Linked DNA regions of Homo sapiens: regions 1, 2, 4, 5 and 6 are each linked to region 3. Evidence: promoter capture Hi-C in 16 types of primary human blood cells and fetal thymus (Javierre and others, 2016). All regions are on one chromosome and are shown on one strand. Each heading gives the region's core, a stretch centred on a gene start or on the middle of the fragment in contact. The rest is flanking DNA. Distances are from core to core; before and after follow the strand shown. Region 1 overlaps FLI1 (Fli-1 proto-oncogene, ETS transcription factor). Region 2 has its middle 150 kb from the start of LINC02098. Region 3 holds the start of ETS1-AS1 (ETS1 antisense RNA 1). Region 4 has its middle 140 kb from the start of MIR6090. Region 5 has its middle 130 kb from the start of LINC02098. Region 6 has its middle 35 kb from the start of FLI1.

Region 1 (2,700 bases), core at 14-2,513, 250 kb after region 3:
ACCACAGGAAATGCAAGGAGGACTGTGATGGCTGGGGTGGCCACGGTTCTTGGGGGTAATTCCCATGAGTCCTGGGAAACTCCAGGGTTTACACCTGTCAATCCCAGCACTTTGGGAGGCCAAGGCGGGTGGATCACCTGAGGCCAGAAGTTGGAGACCAGCCTGGCCAACGTGGTGAAACCCCGTCTCTACTAAACATACAAAAATGAGCCAGGTGTGGTGGTGGGCGCCTGTAATCCTAGCTACTTGGGAGGCTGAGGCAGGAGAGTCGCTTGAATGCGGGAGGGGGAGGCTGCAGTGAGCTGAGATCGCACCACCGCACTCTGGCCTGGGCGATAGACCGAGGCTCTGTCTTCAGAGGAAAAAAGGTTGCCCCCTTGTGGACAACTATCTACAGTACCCATTTTGAAGCTGAACCCACTGAGGCCCAGACAGCTTCAGAAATTGGTTCAAAGGCATCCAGCCGATTGAGAGCACCTGGCATCTCAGACTAGGGCCTCTGGAGTCCCAGTCCCTGGCCTCGCGTTGCCGACGTTCCCCCGGCCCTGGAGACAGCAAGCCAGCCTGCGCCACACAGGCAAGGCAGCCTCACTCCCGGCCTTCCACGTGGGCAGCCCGGCCACTTCCCCCACAGCATTTTCTGTTGTCATTTGTACCAAGAGATAAATGCTTTCCAAAAACTTTCCTGTGGCCTCCTGGAAGGAGGCCGATTAAGCCAAACCTATCACCACGCTAACTTTGTCCTTCTCTGGGCCTGACTGTCGGCCCCACCAGTATCTCTCCCGGACACACCCCGTGTGGCAGAGGAGCCTTCGCAGCAGCTGCTGCGGGAACGAGATTTGTCCCTTCTCAGGCCAAGGCGGGGAAGGACCTCGAAGAAACGGAGGGCGCCGGGCTGGCAGTTCAGGCTCAGGGCCGCTGGGGGGAGTTTGCGCAAGGCTGGGAGCCCCGAGGCCCCGGGGGAGGTGGGGAGGCAGAAAGAAAAAGAGCCTTTTTTAAGTTTTACAAACAAGTTCGTTTTGTATGTCAATCTGGGTCTGACCTGGAAAAAAAAACACTAAGAAACTGCGTCTTCAAACAGTGGCTGCTCAAAAGAATGAAACTGCGCGACCGGGAGACCACGGAAAGGGTGTCTATCTTCATTCCCATTTTTAATTTAAACTTTAATGGAAAACACATTTTGCATTTTCTGGTCTTTCCACCTGCAGCCTCAGATGGTCGGGCAGAGGTTTTGAGTCTGGGCAATTAAGCTGGTGCAATCTTATCACTTCCAGGCCTGGGTTTGACTGGTGAAGGAGAACAGAATGCCAGCTGAACAAAAGGCCAGGTTTCCCTGGACCCAGTAGTCAGCCAGGATTGTTGTTTAAAGATCCCAGAGCCTTGCACCCTCCCGCTCCTGCACACTCAGCCAGAGCTGTTGATATAGCAGTGCAGCCCAGAGAAAAGAGAGACCTGGATTCAATAGGCTGGCTGTGAGGGGGCACTGGTGAATTCTATGGTCACAGCGAGGCAGGAGACAAAGGCTTTGGCACTGGGACGCTTGCGCCCCCTGGCCCAGGTGTCCCCGATGAAAAGCAGGTTAGGTTGAGGGAATGTGAAGCAGCAGAAACCGTGATTGTTGGGGTTCTACCCCACACCTGCAAAGCCTCACACTGCTCACTCCCCTCTCCTTTCAGATCCAGGTACTGTCTCTAGCAGCACATGGATTCAAACATGGAATGGAAAATGATCTTTTCCCCATGCTTGCACTTTGGGAAGGCCATTCTATTCTCAGCAGGAGCTACTTTATGCTTTTTAGAGCAAAAATGCCCTCAATAAATAGATATATGTATATGCATACACACCCATATACAAATATATACATACAAACACATATACAGAAACTTACAAATAACCAAGTAGGCAAATCTTATACTTCAGTTTGAACTGAAGTACAACACAGAGAGAAGTGCAAAAATCATGAAGTGCGCTACGTGAGACATTATCGTGACGTGAATCCACCCACTCCCATAAGCACCTCCCGGGCCAAGGAGTAGAATTTCAGCCCCCTGTACCCTCTCTCCACCCCACAACCGCTTCCTCCACAAAACTAACCACCACCCTGCTTCCCAGCCCCATAGGTGAGTTTTGCCTATTTCTACGATTTAGCCTGGAGGCAGTGGGATCTGCCAGATTGAGGACAGGTTTTGTGAATAGACCACGATGGGGCTCCTGCCTTCTGCACTCTCTGGCTGTGTGATCCTGGGAAAATGATATGACTTCGCTGAGTGTTGCTCCTTTCATCTGTAAAAAGGAATAAGGGAATGCTGGCTCTGTATGGCTTATGCAAGGATTAAGTGAGAAAATAGATGGAAAGCGTCTGGCACACCGTGCATGTTCAGGGAGCACTGCGTCCCCACCACCACCTTCATCATGGCCTGTTTACCCTGATGTGCTGGCATCGGGAAGGTGGGGGAGCTCAGCAGCACAGGCCTGTGGCAGGGTCAGGCCAGAAAGAGCCTCAAGGCAGGAGAAAGCAGTCCAAAGCCACAGAGAGGGAGGCCAGACTCCAGGAGGACCTGCCTGCATCAGAACAAGTTCCTTAAGAAAACAGAGCCTGGGGAACTAATGAAGTAGAAATCGGAGAAGAGGAGGGAATCTAGGTCCCTTGGGAGAGAGGCCAGATGCCCCCAACCAGCCCCTCCTTGGGGAAGGCAGCCT
Region 2 (3,014 bases), core at 79-2,578, 160 kb before region 3:
GACAATGAACTTGATGTTTAAAAAAGTATAAGCTTCTGTGCCAACATAATGAACTTGTTGGCTACTACTATGTTCTTTCAATTTTGGAATAAACATAAATGTGACCCTCAAACACTTGTTTTAATAAAATCATTTAGTGTGTGTGTTTTTTCTTCCTACCTTAGCCAAATGTTATTGAAAGTCCAGTGGGGTGGTTAAACCCTACCTTATCTCCTTAACAGTCACGAAGATCATAGAATTTTTGTTTCAGAACCATGACCACCCCCTGCCCAATGACTTGTGTAATCCAAGATAGATCTGAAGGTGATTGCACATGATACAGATTTAATTCTATGAACATAAGTGTAGAAGTGAAAACACAAAGCCCTTTGAGTTAGATTTATCCTTTCATCATTGATAGTAACAACCTTGGATATTCGCACAGTACCTGACAGTTTACTAAAATGTACTTATTGTTGTCATATTTAATCCTTCCAAAAAAGTAGGAAGGTGTTTTATTATTATTATCATTGCCTATATCTTATGGATGCAGAAACTCAAGTTTGGAAACATTACATGATTTGCCAAAGGCCAAATGTAAAACAGGTTTTAGAAACCTGCGAGGTGTGGAGGAAAGTGTACAGGCTCCAGCCAGACAAAACCTAGTTTGATTTTTGGTTCCTCCACTTATAGCTTTATGATCCTTGACCTAAACAGCGATTACAACAAAATGTATCTCATGCTCACTGTGCCCAGGTCAATGTTCTAAGCACTTAGCTTGTCTTATATTATTTAATCTTCATAAGAGCCTATGAAATAAGTTCCATCATTATTCCCACTGACAGCTGAAGAACCTGAGACACAAAGGGATGGGAAACTTGTCTGGAATCTTCTAACTGATCAGTGGAAAAAACAGAATTAGAACCCATGTAATTTGACATCAGAGCCCAGGCTCCTAAGCACTAGGAAACCCCGTCTCCCTAAGTCAGTTTGCTTCTCTCAGTCACAATATTCTCATTGGTAAAAGGGAGGTAAATGGTGCCTACCTTGCACAATTGTTATTAAAAGTAGAAATAATATCCATCAAGTACCTAGCAAAATTCTTAGTAGGGCACTCTCACCAAATTTTCAGATTTCTCTAACCCACGTGAGATTTTCCATGATATGCTAGGCCAGGATTTTTATTCTGAACCCATTTTGGAGTCCATAAATGAGCTTCAGAGACAATACAACCCTCCTGAAATGGCATCGGTAGGTCTATCTCTGTCTCTGTCTCTATCTCTTTCTAGCTGTGTGTGTTTGTGTGTGTATGTGTGTGTGTGCGCGCATGCATGCACTCATTTTTCTGGGGACACTGTCTCTAGCTTTCATCAGATTCACAAAAATGTCCATGTCTCCCAAAGAAACATTAGCACTACTGTTGGATAATCTTGAAATAAGTCATATACTCTCCAACTCTATTTTTTCATGTATAAAATCATTTAAATATTTTATCCAATCAACATCCTCAGCAGAAATGTGTTTGCCAATTCAACTTACTGTTAATCAAGTTTTAAGCTCATGTTATAAGAAGATCTATTTCGTTTCTTGGATGGGTATAATTGAGTTTGAAGATCTGAGGAAAGAAATGTTTCCTATATCTTGGCCTTCCTCCCTATCAGCTGGCTGTGTTTGGGGCTGAGAAGAAGTCTGCATCAGCACATGTGAGTGTGTGTGTTTACATGGGCCCCAGGGGAAGTGATGACTGTGAGGCAGGCTGTATGCCTGTCCTGAAATGTCTGCCCTCCTCTTATCAGAAACCAATGTGCGTGTTTATTCTATTCCCTCATTAATCTCCTCCCAGCAAACCACAGACTGCCACAAGCAGCTTGATGTCTCAGCACACTTGGCAGCCAGGCAGGTCACTAATGAGTCCTCAGCACCCTGGCCTTGTTTGTTGCTCCCCAGCCCACCAGGAACTGGACTCTGCTGGGCTGATGAGAAGTGGGCGGAAGGGAGTGTACTGGCCCCACAACCAAGGTGCGCACAGGGATGGACAGCCCCAGAGAGTCCCAATCCTCACACCGTCAAAGGACAGCAGACACAACTGATGCCAGTTTATATGAGGTTGACATGAAGTTCAAACCAGCCCACTGCTATTTTTAGTGGAGAGGTTGGCGGTGTGATTGCAGAGGGCCTTATTTAATAAATCACCTACTCCCGGGATTCGAGAATAAACAAACGCTATGAGCAGTGTGAAGCTGCCATCACCCCTCCTGCTCTGCATTTGCTTTCTCACCTTTGCTCGTCTTCTATTTCTGTTTTTCTGTTCCCACTTCTGTACTTCCTTCAGCTGGCTCTTTGAGAAACACAGCTGAGCTTAATGCATTCATTAAGTGGAACTAAATATTCCCGAAAAAAATTGAGTTATGACAACTTTTTGAATAAATATTTCATGGTCCTTAAAAGATTCTAGGGATGTCTCTATAAACCACCTTCCAAACCCTCTTGCTTAAAGGGCTCTTGCCTCATTAGGGCACTGGCATTTCAATGTTGTATGCATTTTAACATTTAAATTAAAATTGTTCTAATTTAATAGCTTCATTCACCACAGCCTCTTATGTTATTATAATCACCTGTAAGTTATGCAATGGTGATAAATGGCATAAAGCTTTAAAGGTTTCAGATAATCATACCTATTTTATTCTCTCTCTCTCTCTCTCTCACCTCCTGAGCTCAAGCAATCCTCCCTCCTCAGCCTCCTAAGTATCTGGGACTACAAGCATGTGCCACCCTACCTAGCTAATTTTTTAAATGTTTTTGTAGAGATGGGGTCTCATTATGTTTCCCAAGCTCATCTCAAACTCCTGGGCTCAAGCAGTCCTCTCCCCTGGGCCTCCCAAAGTCCTGGGATTACAGGTATGAGTTACTGTTCCCAGCTCCTATTTTCTAATCTCCTCCCACACATTCCCCAATCTTTCATAATCTAGGTTCTGCTCCCATCACTGATGGAAACTGCTTACTTAAAAGTGACCTGAGAGCTTCCAAATGCCTCT
Region 3 (2,995 bases), core at 237-2,736:
TGGACTTTAAATGATATTTCTATGTTATCATACGCTAAAACATTGATGCCTAGCCTAGTGCCTAAGACATTACAGAGCTCAATAAATATGTGTTGAATGATGAACTATCAACTTTTTGGTCACTATGGGCTTCCTAATTCAATGATTAAGTGAGTTTGATATGCTCTGGCTTGTGAAGATGAACTAAAAAGTGTCAGAGGCTGTGCCCTTTTCCCTTCATAGTAGAGCAGAACCTCTATCCCCAGCACTCACGTCCACTCGGTTACATGTATGCCTCAGTGTCCCCACCAGCCAAACAACAGCAGCCAAGCGTTGCCTTTCATCCACTTGGGCAAGATACTTCAATACCATATCTGGTTTTTAAGGCACTCAGGAAAAAAAAAAATCAATCAAATAAATACTTCTGTGCTTGTGCTTGTACTGCAGCAGTCTGTTCCTCCTGCATTTGGGAAAAAACAGAATTGTATTTTTAAGCATTCCTTAGACTTCGGCTAATTATATCCTACCAAGTGCTGAATTGCCTTACACTAGGAACGTGAAGTCAATAAGGGCCAAGAAAAGTCCGCAGGAGTTGGGGAACAGAAGAGTGGAGCTAGACAATAATATTAAGAAAATAGTCACCTTCATACAGGAATTCCTCAAGCACATGGAGTATGTAAAAAGCATACTTTCTTTTTTATTTATACTCCTCCCTCAACTCCACCCCAACTTCAATAAAAAAGAAATATAAATATACACTTAATGTTGAACAATCATGGAAGACAGACTTTCCCTCTCCAGAAGTGTCCTAGCATGTTATCTACTCCTGAGTCTTGAACTTCAACAAAACAAAGAATCTCTGAGTTTTGAGCTAAAATATGCTTTACTGAAGGTAGGTACAAAAACATTCAGACCACTAACGGCTGATCCAGAACCAGTTTATGACTCACAGATGTTGATTTACTGGTATAAATGTAAGATTTAGAAAAAAAAAAAAAAAAAAAAAAGCCCTCAATTAACAACAACCTGTCTGAGCTGCATTTGTGGTCTCATTTTTCTCTGAGAAAAGGCAACAGTCTCTGTCATACACAGAAACAAGCTTTGAAAGCTTACTTCTAAGGCAAGTGGTTTCTATGTGAGAAGTTTAGTCATTAAAAGTCACACTAGGGAAGAAAAATGCCTGGCACTTCAATATCTACATTATCAAGCAGCAATAAAATGGAAAATTAGAGATAGGAAGGAAAATTAAAATAACTCTCTTAATTAAACTTGGATGCCAAAAAGCCTTAGGGTCAGTTAAGGGACCCAAGCCAGGGGACTCAGATGGTACTGTTGCTGACTGCAGGCTGGCTCTGTGACCTCACCAAAGCCACTTAACCTTTTTGTGTCACAACCTCATCTCTGTTTCAGGGAATAAAATCAGCCCTAGCTCTCCCTAGAATGGAACACAGACTCATTGGCTATTGTTTAGAAGGCACAATAAACAATGAGGGTAGGAGGAGCTGCAGTCAGGAGGGAAGAAGGGAGGGTGGGGTGGGGTTGGGGGAGAGGGGAGGACTTGGGAGCCTGTTTGCCCTGGAAAGCTCAATATAAGAAAACAAAGAGGATAGTAGTGTGGGCTTTGGAATAAGACTCAGGTTCAAATTCTTACTCTACCAACTAGCCAGCTGAATTGCCACAGGTAAGTCATTTAAACAATCCCGAACCTCAGTTCCTCCATGTTTCAACTAGGGATAATAGCAGCACACACCTTTTAAGGCTATTTGAATGATTAAATGAGATAATGTATGCAAAGAATTTAGCACAGTGTCTAGGTGAGAATTAGTATTTGATTATTGTTATTAAGATCTAGTATACGGTAGAATATGTGGGAAATCACATTAAATGTCTGTCTACAGCCATCTCTTTGCAGAATAGCTTGGATGCTCAATTTTCCTGAACGATCTCCAGCGAGAGATAGAACAACTATCACCACATTTCATTTAAAAATCTCTTCAAGACCCTTCCTCAGTTCTTAAACTGGCAACCTGCCCAGCATCAGCCTCACTTGAGAAATTCGAGAACTACCTGATTGGAGAAGAGAACTAGATTTATATTTGTTTTGAGTCACAGAAAAGTGACAGTTTAAATTCTGAAAGAAGATCACATTTGTAGTGCCTCTTTGGAGACAAAACCTTAGGTCTTGGATTTGTCACATGTTAGAGCTCAATGGGAGTTTATCAGTGCTCTCCAAGTCCAGCACTCCTATTTACCAGAGGTGAAAAATGAGTGTGAGTGAGGAAATTATTATTTCCAGGGCCACACAATCTAAAAAAGTCAGTGTCAGTACTAGAACCAGATGCCCTGATAGCAGTTCTCTCCCTGGCATCTCCTTGCATTTACTTTGCATTTCACTTTGGCAGGAGAAGTACCAGACACCCTTGAGACACAAGACAGGATACAATGGACATGGGAGTAGATAGATGAGCAGACTCAATTTCTAGAAATCCAACTTCTCTACACTGGATGTATTGTCTTTGGGCAAATACATTGCAGGATAACCACACTATGGTTCCCTGTGGGAGACAGCTTGGCATGGGCTGTCAGGAGAGAAAGGGCCTGGGTTGGCTCTATTGCTGTCTGCAGTTTCTTTAGACTATAATTATGAACCATTCAACTGCATCTGCAGCCCCAACAATGTGGGGTGGATTGGCCTAATCCACAGACCAAGCGACATTTTAAAATCCAGCAGTTTAGACACGTATTCCTCTTGCAGCAAATCAAACATGGCTCAGACAGGAAGAGGTAAGGAGCTGCCCAAGGTTAGAGGGTTCTGAGGTCTCATCCACACTCAGTGTTGTGTGCTTCCCTGAAGCAGGCTGAGCATGTTGCCTGGAATTGCTGCAAATGCAGAATGCAGGCTACTCTGTGAGCCTTTGGGGATCATGTAATTGGGATTCCAATTTAAATTGTCCTGAATTGGACTCTTGAGGAGGTAGAGGGATAATGGCAATAGCACAGATGGCAAGAGAACCAA
Region 4 (2,844 bases), core at 117-2,616, 150 kb before region 3:
AAAAGCAATGGCAACAAAAGCCAAAATTGACAAATGGGATCTAATTAAACTAAAGAGCTTCTGCACAGCAAAAGAGACTACCATCAGAGTGAACAGGCAACCTACAGAATGGGAGAAAATTTTTGCAATCTACTCATCTGACAAAAGGCTGATATCCGGAATCTACAAAGAACTCAAATAAATTTGCTTTGTTTTCTAGAAGCAAATGTATTTATGCTTCCTAAATCTGCCCTTTACAGGTTTTTATTGGTCAACAAGCCACAATTCAGAAGAATGGGACATACCACACCCAGAAACCACTGGCCCAGTACGCAATTCTAACATGTACCCTCTCCTCTTGTCCCTCACCCATGCCATGTTTATGCTGGTCTCAGGCTTGTGTTTGTATTTTACCCATCTTGAATGCTCTCTCTTTTTCTTTCTATTGAAATCCTACCAATCTGTATTGGTCAGCCCTGGCTGCCACGACAAAATGCCACAGATGAGGTGACTTAAACAACAGAATATTTTCTCACAGTTCTGGAGGCTGGAAGTCTGGAATCAAGTTGTGGTAAATTCAGTTTCTGGTGAGGGCTCTTTTCCTGGCTTGTAGATGGCCACCTTCTTGCTATGTCCTCACATGGCAGAGAGGAAGAGGGAGGTCTCCCTCTGGTATATCTTCTTACAAGGACACTAATCATATCAGATCAGGACCCCATCTTTATGACCTCATTTAATCTTAGTTGCTTCCTTAAAGGCCCCATCTCCAAATACAGCCATGCTTAGGGTTAGGGCTTCAACTCTAGAAATAGGAATGGCAGGGAGAGGGGCAGAAACATTCAGTCCGTAAAGCCATTGTTCAAAGCTTAGCCCACATCATACCTTCTGGGAAAACCCAAGTCAATCTGAAGCCCTACCAATGATCATCTGTTCCCAAAACTCAACACCACCAAAACTTGTTTTAATAATCTACGACTCTACTACGTACAAGATTTTCTTGTCAACAAACATTGATGCTTTCTGAAGTAAGGTATCATATCTTACACTTCATTGGAATCTACTATGACCTGGCAGTGTCGGGGGTATATAGGAGATAACTAAACAGCACTGAAAAGATGAATGATTTATTACTATTTCTCCAGCTGTGTTCCTATATGATGCTCTAGTAGAAGGATGCAAATGTCTCCCTGTGAAAGGGACACTCTCCAAGGCAATGGCAGTGCCAACACCCACCAGGGGCTGTTGGCCATCTTTCTGTTCTTCTGAAGGAAACATCAAAGGGCAGTTAGTACAGACCCTGCACACTCTTACTCACTCTTGATACCTCAAACAGCAAAGTGCCAGAATGAATCACTTTTCTGAGCCAGGAGGTAAATGTGGCCATTTATAGATAGAAGGAAGAGATTAGGTATGTTGAAAGGGGAAGGTTTTTATGCTTTGCTTTTGATCCCCGTCTGGCACTCCCCAGAGCTGCCATGTGCCCCACACCTGATAAATACTGTTTTATAAATGGCAAAGAAGAGAATTTAAAGCCATAAATCTATCCCCACCCCCCTTGCTTTTTTATGGATCTAAAGGATAATTAAAACCATGCTCTTGCTTTGCAAATGAAGACTTGTCTTTCTGGCAGTCCCCATTTCAAATGAACTTGGGAGCAGTGTCAGTGCAAAGGGCAGCCTTGGGTTGATGCTGTCCAGGCTGGGATGCAACTGTCTCTAACCTTGTAGGTCTCAGGGTGTGTGTGCACCACCCAGGGGCTGCTGCAGTAAGCGAGACCTCTACACAGCTCTGCCTGGTGCTTTGAACTTGGTTAATGCACAGTGCTAATGAGGCCCAGGTCAATATTTAGCTATTTTCAGAGAAAAAAAAGAGAAAAACAATGTCCTTCTTTGGCCATAGACTGCTCCCCCAAGCTTCAACCACTTCTTTCAGGTATTCATAGACACAGGAAAACTGAGAGAAGGAATATGAATGGATCAGGACTGCCAGAGAAACCATACAAAATATTACATCATCATATAAATGAATCATCATAAAGGCCATGTACTGTCAAGGAAAATGTTTTTGTTAAAGCTGTAAGTGGAAAATTAATAATATAAAATACGTTTGCATTATGAGGATAGAAAGTAAAAATAAATTATTTTTTACAATATATTTTCAATTATCAAATAATATGTGTGCACATGGTTGAAATAAAGAATAATAAAAAGGGCTTATACATGAAAGGCCTCTGTCCCTTCCCTCTTCCCCTTCCCCTCCCCAGAGAAAACTCTTTTAACTCTTTGGGCTATTTTTCTGGGAGTTAGTGCCATCTTTCTAGACAATGCATGTTTTTGCCTGCACTTTTAATTTATTCATTTTATACATTATCTTTTGAATCCCCACTATGATAGATTAAGATTTAGTTCACACAAACTCACCCTAAACCCAATCTCGTAGTAAATAAAAATTATGTCATTTATTCTTTAATCTTTTGTAATTACTTATTATCATACTTTTGTTTCTTGTTTTACCAACTAAAGGCAACATCTTTTAGCATCCCTGTCTTTTCTTTCTACTCTCAGCTCTCCCCACCGCACCACCTGCTACCTCCCAATTTCTCACATGCGCACTTCTTTTATATTGTCACAGAGGAGGGAAGGTACATTTTATTCCATAGCCAGCTTGCATCACTGAGCTGATTATAGAAGTTGAAAGTCAACTAACCCTATCCCTGTTATTTTGACTGTGTCAGTATTGCACAAAGCAGAGTAACGTAGTGTTTTCATGATTACAGTTCTTTCTTATAATGCTCTATCCTTTTTCTGAGATTTCTAGATGCCAGTTTTTTAAAATTTTGCCTTTATCACACTTTAGAATTTTATA
Region 5 (2,709 bases), core at 47-2,546, 180 kb before region 3:
GGCTGGGGGAAAGAGAAAAGGAGAGATGTGGTCAAAGGGTACAAACTCTCCGTTACGAGAATAGGTTCTAGAGACTTAATGTACAGCATGGTGACTATAACAATACTATATGATATAATTGATTTTTTTTTTTTTTTTTGAGACAGAGTCTTGCTATCTCCCAGGCTGGAGTGCAGTGGCATGATCTTGGCTCACTGCAATCTCTGCCTCCCGGGTTCAAGCGATTCTCCTGCCTCAGCCTCCCAAGAGGCTGGGACTACAGGCACGCGCCACCATGCCCAACTAATTTTTGTGTTTTTAGTACAGACGGGGTTTCACCATGTTGGCCAGGATGGTCTTGATCTCTTGACCTCATGATCTGCCTGCCTCGGCCTCCCAAAGTGCTGGGATTACAGGCGTGAGCCACCACACCTGGCCTTGAAATATTTTTAAACAGTAGATCTTAACTATTCTCACTGCACACATACACAAAAGATAACTATGAGGTTATGGATCAGTTAACTTGTTTGTGGTAATCATTTCACAATGTATACATCTATCAGAACATCATGTTGTACATGATAAATATACTCAAATTTTATTTGTCGATCATACCTCAGTAAAATAGGGGGAAAAATAATCTGTGTTGAATTGCTACAGTCTCTGACAAAATTATTAATAAGTTAAATATGTATTAATTTTTATTTACAGCTTTATTTTTACATTTTGGGCCCAGTCATTCTTTTTTCTAGTCTCATATTTTGTGAAGGCATCGAAAAACATGCTGACCGTAGGGGCACCATGGCTATAACGACTTGCCTACAGTTTGTTTCCAAGGAAAAGCCGTAGAAAGGATTAGAATCTCACAGTTGGATTATGTCTGTAGTCTCTTAAAATGAATACTGTACTGTGCCAAACAACCTTTAGTCTCCTTGCTTAAAAGCCTCAAGTCAGATGTATGATCTCTCTTACTCTGAGGAAATGCAGGGGCGTGTCCCTGGTGATCATCTTGGTTGAGTTTCCTGTCTTGGCTCCGTTGCCTGAAACCTCATCCAATGTCACCTTTTAGTGAATCTAAAAGCCACTCAGAAAATAGGCAGAATCTACCTATTACTCTGAATTATTCGTGGGCAGGGCATAGCGTACCCATCTCCCAAATCACACTTCAGCTTTAGGATTTCTACGTCTTACCCCCATAGGTATTTTGAGGAGCAGGGCAGCCTCTATCGTGGCTTCATTTATTTTGCTTTCGGAAAAGTGGAAAGAGATTTCCCTAAGCACTGGAAAGAATCTGAGATAGGAAAGAGAAAGCCAGAAGAGAAACAAACTTCAGACAGCAGCGTGGAGGAAGGAAGTGGAAACAGAGACCAGATGAATTCCGCTCCCCAACTTTCAACCCAAAACTGCCTCCTGAGCTGCGGGGTCCCAGAGGCTCCTGGGTCCTCCAGCAGGAATCAATGTGCACATTTCCATATCAAAGAAACAAGCTCCCCGCACAGGACCTCAGTGAAAGGAGATCTGCACTGAGAAGAAAGCGAAGTTAGGCGCCTCGGCAAGCATTTAGAAATAACTTTAAGCACCAGCAGCTCAGGCCTCATTTTTGTAATGCTCAATCACGGATCACCTATCGACCAACCCATCAAACTCCCCGCCCCCAGCACTTTTATTTCTCCTCTTTAGGAAGTACACTTCAGTATCTTTGGCACAGTGCATGAGCACGACTAAAGTAAAACATCGCAGAAAACATAGCTTTAGTCTACCCTTCGTGTCCTAAAAGGAAAACCAGTAGCTTCCCAGGCCACCGGAAGGGCAACACATGTCCTCTGCAGTTTCTGCACACGGGAAGGTAAAGACAGAGAGAGGACCTACTCCTCAACACAGAAACATTTCAAAATCTTTCCTCGCCTGCAACCCAAGCTGAAGTCATTCTCCCCAGAAATAACAAAAGTTGGAAGAGAAGCCGGAGACAGGATAGGTGCAGGAAGCCCACACTTTGAGGGCAGCACTCAGACACCCTCTCCTGTGTGCAGGACGTGCCGAATGTTCAGGTGCAATGAGAATGAGCCATGCTTGGCTTACGAGGGCAATCTGGCCCATCAAGTGGCCTTCGCCTCTGGGAGTAACAAAAATGCACTTCAAAATAGCTTCTGTAATCAAGCTGCATGGGTGGAGTACTCCCCAGCTGACTCCAGGAAGTTCTCTATCCAAAGCTATTCATTAGGCCAGAGCTGTGCAAATAATTAGTCACCCACTTGCTCCATAACCCTCCATGACAGCCCAGGCATTGAGTCCAGGTGGGACCATCAAGCCATGCTCTGGTGGCTCATGCATTATCATAGAAATGGGAGGCTTTATTTATTTTACTAAAAAGAACAAAAACAACAGACTGCTGTCCTTTAGACAATAGGATCACGTCATCTGAGCCCTCTGTGCCCCAGGTGACAAGCCCAGCCCCAAGTTCTCTTTCCTCAGCCTCCCCACACATGTTCTGGAGGAGATGGGCCCAGCAGGCTGCTCTGAGGCCTGGCTGTCTCATCCTGAGAATGCGTCACCGTGAAGTGCCCTTGCAGATGTTTCCTGGGCTAAGCCTGACAAGGCTGAGAGCAGAGACTTTGGCAGCAGGAGGCCAGGGGGAAACAAGAGGCAGCCCTGAACTCAGCCTTCACGGCCCTCCCTAAACACATGGGCCAGCCACAGGGAAGAAAAAAATGCCCTGTAGCACAGGAATCT
Region 6 (2,720 bases), core at 101-2,600, 130 kb after region 3:
TGCCGAGCTGCCTCCTGACGTGGCCTTTGCCCATTCTTCTCCCTCTGCAGAAAAGGGTCTCCCCGACCCCACACACCCTCCCTCACTCCAGCTAACTTCTTTCCATTTTTGCCTAATCCACTCAAGCATCATTTCTGCATGGAACACTTCCCTGACTTCACAGCCCACCCTCCTGTTTACCCACAGGTCTAAATGAGTGACTACACCACCTAAACTCGTACACATGTCATTTCCTTTAAAATAATCACCATATTTATAATAATACGCTCATCTTTGTGTATTTCTGACTAAACGTCTGCCTTCTCCACCAGCCAGTATGCTCCACAAAGACAGGAACTCATTGTTCCCAGAAACTTTCAAGGGGCAAGTGCTCAGTAAATGTTTAAGGACAACTTCTTAAAGCAAACTAAATATGGCCTGAGGACCCTGCACCTCTGTATTTGAGTCCTTGTGGATGAACTGCAACTTAACTTCATAGGTAGACAAGATTGAAAACCTAACTTAGGAGTATGTGCCTGTAACAATAGCTGAGTCTTGGCCAATCCCAGCAGCCCTACTTCAACCATACACTGCTGAGTGTTCAAATAAGGCAAAGGACAAGCTGCAACCAATCCAGCTGCTCTGTACCTCACTTCCGATTTCTGTATGTCATTTCCCATTTTTTTTTTTTTTTTGGTCTATAAATCTTCCACCACGTCGCTGCACTGTATGTAGTCTCTTTGAATCTGTTGTGATTCTGGGGGCTGCCTGATTAGCGAATCGTTCCTTGCTTAAGTAAACTCCTTTAAATGTAATTCAGCTGACGTTTTTCTTTTAACAAACTAAATCTAAAAATTGTTTTATATAACACAAGTGATTTTAAAAATGAAATTGTAAGAAATGACAAATACACAAAATGTAAAACTAAATAATGTTAAGTTCAACCATAGCTATTTTGAAAATAAATATAAATGGTTTAAACATGTTGCCATATTCAATGATCACACAAGGACATGTAAATTTTCATGTAATATAATAGTTAAAAAAAATTGTACAAACAAAGCTTAATTTCTATCTCTTCTCCAAGAAACACTGGAAAGGAACCTTTAAAGTGTTAACAGCAGTTATTCTGGGTAGTAAAATTATAGATTATTTTCATCTCTTCTTTATATTTTTCAGAATTATCTATGTCATGTATAAAAAATCAATCTTTTAATCAGAAAAAAGTTATATCTGTCAGTTGTGTTTTCTGTTATAGGTTACAGAAAACTGAATTCAAAGTGAATTAAATAATAATAGGAATGTATGACTAACATAACTGAGGAGGTTGGGTTATGATTTAACCTGCTTTAATTTCCTGCAAATCTCTTGTTTTCAGTCCATTTCTGTGATTAGCTTTATCTCCAGGTTGACTTACCTCATACTGGTAAAATAGCTACAATGGTTCCAGGCTTCCCATCCTCACACCATACCATACAGAAGGAGAGGAGCCATCTACGTGCCACTCTGATTGGACCAGCTTAGGACATGGGCCCACTTCTGAACCAATCACTGTGGTTGGGAGATGCTGCTAGGTGATTTCTCCACAGCTAGAGCTGAGGGTACAGTCAACCTCCCCAGAGCCACATGTATCACCATGCAGAGATCCCGTTCTCTTGCAAATACCTGCAGGGAGCATGGAAGCTTGACAGACATGTCCACTGCAAACATTTTGAAATAAAATACTGCTTACCTAATTTTAAAAATTAAAAGGCACTATGATGCAGTGAGAACAGCATTGGGGCCATTGGGAGGCTTGAGTTCAAAGTCATCTGCCACTGACTTTGACTAGATACAAGATCGTGGACAGTTCTTTATCACTCTGCATGTTTCCTAGTCTGTGAAATGGTGACCCAAGAGACTGTCACAGGAAAGGAGCACTTTCTCCACTGTCATAGGAAAGGAGCAGGGTAATATGGAGGCCGATAGGAATTTGCAGATTTGGTTGCAGGAAGGTAAAGAAGTTGCCTCCTGAGCACTTCTCTTTTCTCAGTGCAGTAGGACGCAAGGTCCTCCTTTGGGCAGGAGGTGAAGTAGGGATGTGAGAGGCTTACAGGGAGTAGAGAAGGTTGAAAATGCAAACAAGTAAGAGAATATTTGAAAAAAATCGAAGCTACACCACAGAGTCTTATGATTTAGAACAAAAACAGCTATGGGTGGGAAATACACTCTACAAATGTGAAATAGAGAGAAGCCATGAGAGAAGCCAGTGGTTAAAAAAGGATTCACTGAGCAGACATTTGCTTTGGATTTTCTAAAATGCAGATACTCTCTTTCAGTAAGACAACTTTATAAAACTATCCACAAGGATTTTCACATGAGTCACAAGTATTCCTACAGAATTCCAACTAACGGCTGGGTGGCGTAAACATTTACCTAACTTTTGAGTGTCATCAAGACTAAGCCATTCATGTTAAATTCAACTCAGCCTGGAAAAGACAAGAGAACTTCAAAACAACAACAGCAACAACAGAGTAGCCTTTTTCCGGAGTCAGCAGGAGGAGCGAGTGATATAGCTTGGGAGTGCAGGATTAGGGATAACGTTCAACAGGTGGCCTACAGAAGGGAGTTCTCTGCAGAGGACGTGGAGACGATATTACTGAAGTCTTCTTTTTTCCCCATCTCAGGCAAGGTGGGGTTATAGGAAGTACCCTTGGACTTTTCTTCAAAGTATCTAAGAGCTTACCTCCCTGCCCCCACCC

Evidence for each region. The method cuts DNA at HindIII sites, captures the fragments that hold promoters and counts their contacts. A CHiCAGO score of 5 or more calls a contact.
Region 1: a contact is called between a fragment that was not itself captured here and the fragment with the promoter of ETS1-AS1 in region 3, in 10 of 17 cell types (total CD8 T cells, activated CD4 T cells, neutrophils and 7 more). The highest score is 17.6, in total CD8 T cells.
Region 2: a contact is called between a fragment that was not itself captured here and the fragment with the promoter of ETS1-AS1 in region 3, in 13 of 17 cell types (activated CD4 T cells, non-activated CD4 T cells, naive CD8 T cells and 10 more). The highest score is 18.5, in activated CD4 T cells.
Region 4: a contact is called between a fragment that was not itself captured here and the fragment with the promoter of ETS1-AS1 in region 3, in 9 of 17 cell types (activated CD4 T cells, total CD8 T cells, naive CD8 T cells and 6 more). The highest score is 17.7, in activated CD4 T cells.
Region 5: a contact is called between a fragment that was not itself captured here and the fragment with the promoter of ETS1-AS1 in region 3, in 14 of 17 cell types (activated CD4 T cells, non-activated CD4 T cells, total CD8 T cells and 11 more). The highest score is 34.9, in activated CD4 T cells.
Region 6: a fragment that was not itself captured here is called in contact with the fragment with the promoter of ETS1-AS1 in region 3 in 9 of 17 cell types (total B cells, total CD8 T cells, naive B cells and 6 more); the score reaches 12.8 in total B cells.

Annotation. Positions count from the first base shown.
Region 1 is chr11:128,776,296-128,778,995 of GRCh38, forward strand. The region is part of intron 4 of FLI1 (Fli-1 proto-oncogene, ETS transcription factor); the gene reads left to right. Among named protein-coding and RNA genes, the nearest start is that of SENCR, 82 kb to the left of the region's middle. RefSeq lists an enhancer at 433-1,038. The HindIII fragment of the contact is 3,048 bases long and covers 1-2,700 here.
Region 2 is chr11:128,359,818-128,362,831 of GRCh38, forward strand. No RefSeq gene overlaps it. Among named protein-coding and RNA genes, the nearest start is that of LINC02098, 150 kb to the left of the region's middle. The HindIII fragment of the contact is 2,597 bases long and covers 31-2,627 here.
Region 3 is chr11:128,524,656-128,527,650 of GRCh38, forward strand. It overlaps ETS1-AS1 (ETS1 antisense RNA 1), which reads left to right and starts at 1,487. Exons shown (of 4, transcript NR_120581.1): 1 at 1,487-1,660; 2 at 1,878-2,763. The region is part of intron 3 of ETS1 (ETS proto-oncogene 1, transcription factor); the gene reads right to left. The HindIII fragment of the contact is 5,425 bases long and covers 1,086-2,995 here.
Region 4 is chr11:128,378,431-128,381,274 of GRCh38, forward strand. No RefSeq gene overlaps it. Among named protein-coding and RNA genes, the nearest start is that of MIR6090, 140 kb to the right of the region's middle. The HindIII fragment of the contact is 1,048 bases long and covers 843-1,890 here.
Region 5 is chr11:128,340,519-128,343,227 of GRCh38, forward strand. No RefSeq gene overlaps it. Among named protein-coding and RNA genes, the nearest start is that of LINC02098, 130 kb to the left of the region's middle. The HindIII fragment of the contact is 4,157 bases long and covers 1-2,709 here.
Region 6 is chr11:128,658,062-128,660,781 of GRCh38, forward strand. No RefSeq gene overlaps it. Among named protein-coding and RNA genes, the nearest start is that of FLI1, 35 kb to the right of the region's middle. The HindIII fragment of the contact is 620 bases long and covers 1,041-1,660 here.